Regions from separate parts of the Homo sapiens genome. Here region 1 is linked to region 2. Evidence: promoter capture Hi-C in 16 types of primary human blood cells and fetal thymus (Javierre and others, 2016). All regions are on one chromosome and are shown on one strand. Each heading gives the region's core, a stretch centred on a gene start or on the middle of the fragment in contact. The rest is flanking DNA. Distances are from core to core; before and after follow the strand shown. Region 1 overlaps IGSF3 (immunoglobulin superfamily member 3). Region 2 holds the start of LINC02868 (long intergenic non-protein coding RNA 2868).

What was found. The method cuts DNA at HindIII sites, captures the fragments that hold promoters and counts their contacts. A CHiCAGO score of 5 or more calls a contact.
Region 1: a contact is called between a fragment that was not itself captured here and the fragment with the promoter of LINC02868 in region 2, in 1 of 17 cell types (M2 macrophages). The highest score is 5.1, in M2 macrophages.

The regions. Positions count from the first base shown.
Region 1 is chr1:116,574,678-116,577,920 of GRCh38, forward strand. It overlaps IGSF3 (immunoglobulin superfamily member 3), which reads right to left. Exons shown (of 11, transcript NM_001007237.3): 11 at 1-2,885. The coding sequence ends at 2,635. LOC124904385 (a long non-coding RNA gene) reads left to right here. Exons shown (of 2, transcript XR_007066497.1): 2 at 1-73. Among named protein-coding and RNA genes, the nearest start is that of CD58, 5.3 kb to the left of the region's middle. The HindIII fragment of the contact is 4,636 bases long and covers 1-3,243 here.
Region 2 is chr1:116,692,655-116,695,504 of GRCh38, forward strand. LINC02868 (long intergenic non-protein coding RNA 2868) reads left to right here and starts at 1,458. Exons shown (of 4, transcript NR_149353.1): 1 at 1,458-1,543; 2 at 2,105-2,201. The HindIII fragment of the contact is 15,118 bases long and covers 1-2,102 here.

The sequences.
Region 1 (3,243 bases), core at 27-2,526, 120 kb before region 2:
TAGTTTTTCATAAATGCAACATTGTAGACATAGATGAATCCAGAGTATTCAGCAGTTTTCCTCCGTCTCAGAAGACTAAAGCTCCAGTAGACAATGCGCAATGAGGTCTCACAGCCACTGGAGGGCACCATTACCATCCATCTGACATCGCATTTCCATAGAAATGGCCAAAGAAAGAAGGTCCTGGGGTTTTTCATAGAAAGCTCAAAAAGTTCAACCTTTGATGCTATCCCCCAGCCCAATACAAAATACACAGAAAAAGCAATTATTAAAATACTGGCTTCGGTTTCTTTTTTTCCTTTCAAATTTCCTACAATTGCTTTACATATTTGTGTGCAGCACCTACTTCTTTATCGCCGTGAACTGAAATCTAAGATTTCAAACTGAAATCTTAGTTACACATCCTAGTCCCAGCCAGCGCTCTGGCAACCTCCCATTTAGACAGAGGAAACGCCAGTCATCTTCCCTCATTGACTCAGCCTATAAAGTAGGAGTCAGCAAATTCCCACTGAAAGCCCACATCTCTGAAATAAAGAAATGGGGCAAAAGACCTTCTTTTTTCATGACTGAGCCGCTCCTGTACCTCTAATGTGTTGATGCAGCATAATAAATGAGAATCAGCATGTCAGGCAACAGCAGGATTAAGGTGGTGGTGCCTGCACACACTGTCTCACAGGAGGGTACGGTATACTTGGGGGAGAAAAGGCAGGTCTGTGTGTCTGTCAGAAAATGGCTGAGCAATCGCCACCATGCTCCCCTCAGCTGGGAATCAGCAAAGTATCTGCCGAGCAGCCCAGGCCACCTGCATACCTGCAGACCCTTGAAGGATCAGCACAGACACTGGCCTGGGGAATCCCATGGCCTCCCCTGCAGTCTGCTCGTTCTCAGAACAGGGCTTCACTGGAATCTTTTATCAGACTTAGTTCCAGAATCCCTGATGACTTTTTCCAAACTGTGACCCCCTCTTGGGATTCAGGATGTAAGTTCCCAGAGTAAAGGAGATGGCATGCTTGGCCAGAAAAATATGGGAAAGCAAGGGTATAAGAACATCTTCATAAAGGGAGCAAAAGGAAATATTTGCAATTGATGATGCCCTAAGAAGGACAAGCAGCACCTGGCCCAACAGTGTAAAAGAACAGGGTGACACCAGCCATCATGGGGCTCAAGGGGCGTTAAAATAAAAAGCCACCATAACAATGAACAACCAAACAACCTAGAACCACAAGAGAGATCAAGAAAGGGAAAGGAAAAATCCCACAGACAATGCCTTGTGATCACAGTCTGCTGAGACTAGGCAAACAGAAAGGATGACAAAGGGCTGCGTCTGGACTGCCCCCAGGCTGATATTCTTATGGCAGTGAGAGGCAGGGAGAGAAAAATGAATAAGGAAGACATCACTATAATTAAGGAAAATCTAATTGGAAGGAAGAAGAAAAACCTAGTCTTCACACCTCCAGGGAGGTAGATATTTCTCTGCACTCTCCAACACCAGGCCCTGGAAACCCCCCTCCCACCCCTCACTGTCCCACCAAACTTAGTGTCAGCCAGCCCCGTGCCCTCCGTCAGGTGTCTGCCATGGCTGCTTTGGCCCTGTGCTCAGCTCAGGGGCCCACTTCCAAGTTCACTGGACACTTTCTTTTAAGAGTTTGGCAAAGCACCTGAAGACACAGGCCCACCTGCTCACAGTTAATCAGTTAGAGACCATCCTTGCAGCTCAGAGCAAGCCAACAGCCAGCCTTTCTCCCTTCCTTCTCTAGTCACTGGCTTTGACAAATCTGCAGGTCAGCAGCTGCTAAAAGCAGCCCCTGCCCACTTTAATTTGGAAAGTGTGTGCCGTTTGGGGCTTCTGACCCATTCTCCAAGACAGTTTTCTTATTTTTTGGCAAGGATGGGATGAAGCCTTTTTTGCCTCCCTGACAGATAGGCCGGGCACCATCTACTCCTAATGGGGTTATGCAGGATTTCTCTTGTACATACACAGTTCTTTGAAGCAAAATTCAGTGCTTTCGTCTTGACTACAAAGTGGTTCCAATAACTCCAGCTGAGGGAAAAGACAACATACAAATTTTGCCCACACTACACACAATTCTTAAGTCTTGTTAAGAAAGTAAAAAACGTTTGGGTATATTTTGATCCATGGGTGGCATTTTCAAATGTGCAAAAACAAAGTCTTGGAAGAGATTCCTTGTCACTAGAAAGTTCGCCCTTCCTTTTGCTGTCAGTTGTACGTAAGAGAAATTCGTCCACATTAAGGAATCCAAAAAGGGTAAACTAAAGGGATTTAAAAAGAGTACATTACAAAGAATAAGAAGCCCTGTAACATCTATCTGAGAATACTAGATAAATCTGTGAGTAGATGTGGCACCTGGAGCTACTCACTACATTACTAAAAACAGAAACAAGAAATCTATAATGGCAGGATCACAACATTTGCGCGCAAATAGCTAACCAACCAAGACTGCCACCGAGAGGCAGTCTGTCTCTGTGACTGACTGGGAACTTGGAACACTTTTCAAGTCTGACAACTTTCCACACACATGCACCCCAGAGTTTGGGTGCTGTCAACTGTCCAATCACAGAGAAAGGGAGAGCCTCAGCTCCTCCGTGGCCAACATCCGCTGGGGCATCACCCGCTTAGTCTATGGCCCCTGGATGGATACTGAGAACAGGGGGCTCCAGGCAAGTAGGGGAGTAGTTGAGGTGTGGCTCTTTGATCCACAGCAGAGGCACCCCATTCTTCCCATCAGAGTTCTTGCTGGAGTTCCGGCTCTTGAAACGCACCAGAAGGATGGTGATGATAAGAATGCCAAAGATGGGGAAAGGGTAGAAGAAGACGAAGTAGAAGAGTGCGTCGTTGGAGCAGATGATGGACTGGAGGGTGGGACCTGAAAAGAATCATGAGAGAGACAAGACAATGAGGGCTGAGAACCTGGACTGCTCACATTTCCTTTTGAAGACCTCACCTGACCCAGTGGAAGCTCCTCGGTGACACTCCCACACCACCTTGTCTTTCCCCTGCTACCATTAATGGTGGAAGATGACCCTTATATTCTTTTTCTCGCAACACCTCTCCTAATTTACGGCTGTATGTTCCAACAAAGCAATGCTTCTGTTTTCCATTGAGAGCCATTATTGCTGCTTGGAAAGCCACATAATGAAACATAATTTATTGATTGTGAACTCAACTGCATCTAGAATGGTGAAGAAGCTGCTCTGGTTCAGTCGGAGCCTCCTGCATGGTTG
Region 2 (2,850 bases), core at 208-2,707:
CTGTAAGTAACAAAAGATGCAACTCACAATGGCTTAATAATAGGAAAATTTATTATGCTCCATAACAAGAAATCCAGAGGTATGCAAGCTCCAGAGATGGTTAATTTAGTTCTTCAGTAATGTCATAGAAGACCCAGTTTCTTCCAGCTCGCACCCTAGCTATCTTCATCGGGTTGCACTTTTCCTCACGGTAACTCTCCTCAGAGTGAGAAGTGAGGCACAGCTGTACTAAGCAGATCTAATCCAGATAATATGACAGTGCCTGCTTCTCTTTTTACAAAGGGGAAAACCTCTTTTAGAACCCCCGGCCCTACCTAGTAGACTTCTGCTCATGGTTTTGGTCAGAACTAAGTCATGGGTCCTTTTGAAAAATCAGTTATTAGCACAGGGAAAGAGGGAATACTATGAACAGCTTAGGGCAAACACGTGGTCATGAATAGGACATGTTGCCAAGCAGACTGAAGTTATGTTAGGAAGGGAGAAGCGCAGGGATACAGTTATATTGGATAAGCAGCCACACAGCTTGCTGCTGTGTGCATTTATTCATTTATTCATTCAACAGATATTATCTATCATATACCCAGCATTGTGCTGGAGGTTGTGGACAGTAGTGAACATGAGAGACAAGATCCCTCCCCTGCCAGACCTTCCCCTCACCCCCTGCCCTTTGAGATGGAGAGGGTGTCCAGGCCTCCCCCCTTCACCCTCTGAGGTGGGGAGGCGTCCAGGGCCTCGCATCTCAGCATGGGACTGATAGGCTTGCCCTGACCTCTCGCAGGCATGAACACTGCTGTCTGGGCCGTGGCACACATGGGCATTTGTGTGGGCACCAAAGTCTTCCTCATCTGCGAGGTAAGGCTGAGGTGAGCTCTGTGTATGTGGGGAGCAGGAGCCTCCTGGGGTGCAGGCTGGGGTCTGGTCTGTGTGGGTCACCCTGGGAGCCTTCAGATGACCCTGGTGGAGCTAAGGTTCCAGACGTTCCCGTAGGGAAAGAGACGGTGGCCATGTAAACAAATAAACAAGATCCTTGTAGAGTGCCGTAACTATCATAAGGAAATCAGCAGAGCAGTGGACAGAGTGTGAACAGGGCCTGCACTGGAGGCGGACATGGAAGGTCCTCTGAGAAGGTAACATTTGATGAAGTAGGGAGCAACAAGTCCAGTGCAGATCAAGAGAGAGGACTCCAAGCAGAGCCAACAGCAAGTGCAAAGGCCCTGAGGCAGGAATGAGGTGGCTGTGTGGCTGAAGCAAAGTCTGTGCCTAATGACTAATCAAAAGTTGCTTCTGGCACCCAGCCTGGCTCCTGCCCCAAGCTGAAAACAGATCACCAGCAACAACTCTAGCTTCCCAAGCCTCTCCTGCCTAGACATGCAGCTCCACCCAGGTCAGAGGTACAGCTGCAGGGACCACAAAACAATGGGCTTAGCTCTGTGAAGACAGGAAAAGCCACCATGGTTTTGACAAAGAACCCAGGAATGGCGTTAAAGACTTCTTTGGGCAGTGTCCAATTTATGGAGCAATTTTGTTGGCCACATCTACGGAGGTATAAAAAAGACAGACATAAGGCAAGGATGGAACTACTTTGTTTATGTGTGTTGATATCCCTTCCCCATGCTCCTGTACGCCTCATAGCTCCTGCAGCGTGGTGGGTGATCCCAGTGGCTCCTATTTCACCTGGAGGCAGGACAGTGCTGCTGCCATGTGTGGCAGCTCTGCCAGGGGCTGAGGAGGCAGAGACTGTAATTCTCAGTTTGGTGTAATAATCCCTACCACTTTTCTGCGGCTGAGTTTCTGGGTGGGCATAAGTTCACTGGCAGCCTGGGTCCCCAATCTTATTCCCCTCCAGGCCTGGTAGCTCTTCTTTCTTGCAGTGAAAACCTCTCCGAGGGTTTTAATGATCCTGTCCAGTTCTGGCCTGCCACACCCATCACAGCCTGGTCAGTCCAGAGAGCGCTGAGTCCTCCTGCTTCCTCTGTCAGCAGTGACATCAGGCATCCTCCCTAGGCTTCCTCTGGAAACTCATCCCTTTTTGTCCCTCTTCCAGGTAGCCTTTTCCCCAGAATGTTGTTACTGGATTCATTTGATATTTTGTTTTCCTTTGAAGCTTTTGTGAAACTTGCGTAGGCTCATGGAGTATCCAAATGAGGCAACATCACCATCAGTCCTCCTTCCCTGGCTCACTGCCTCAGGAAACCAACCTGGTAGGTATTTCTGAGACTCCCAGTTTCTATGGAAGTCCCTGGGGATTTCTCACTCAAATCTGCAAAGTGCTTAGTCTTCCTGGACTTTTGGCTCTAGGCAGTTTGCTTGGAAGTATTGAAGGAGAGTAGCTCCCTGACCCCCATGTGATAATATTACAGGGCCTCAGAGCAGGGTTGTTTGGCATTCTAGGGGCTGGGAGATTGGTGAGACACCCCAGATGTCTGCTTGACTTCAGGGTGGCTGATTAGGGTGGGCTGATTACAGTAGAGTCCACCACCCTACACTCGGAACCGCAGCTTCCTCTGAATTGCAACTGTGCTGCTGCCTGGGACAGATTCCTTTCTTTTTAAGGTTGAAATTTCTCTTAAGGAGTCCATATTTGGGTTTTGTCCCTAACCACCCCACCTCCCCAATTCCCTGTCCTAAGTTCTGCAGGCACCAGGGACCGCCATTGTGAACACAGGGGGGTTCTTTCCTGGAGCTCCAGAATCCAGGTAGACATCTGGGAAGTGATGGGAAAAGAGGTCATTCCATCATTTGGACAAATCTAAATCTAAATTTAGCCCCAGCCTGCTATAGAATATCAGCATGAAAGAAACTTTGGAGGCTATTAGGTCAACTGCTTCATTTTGCAGATGAGAAAACAGA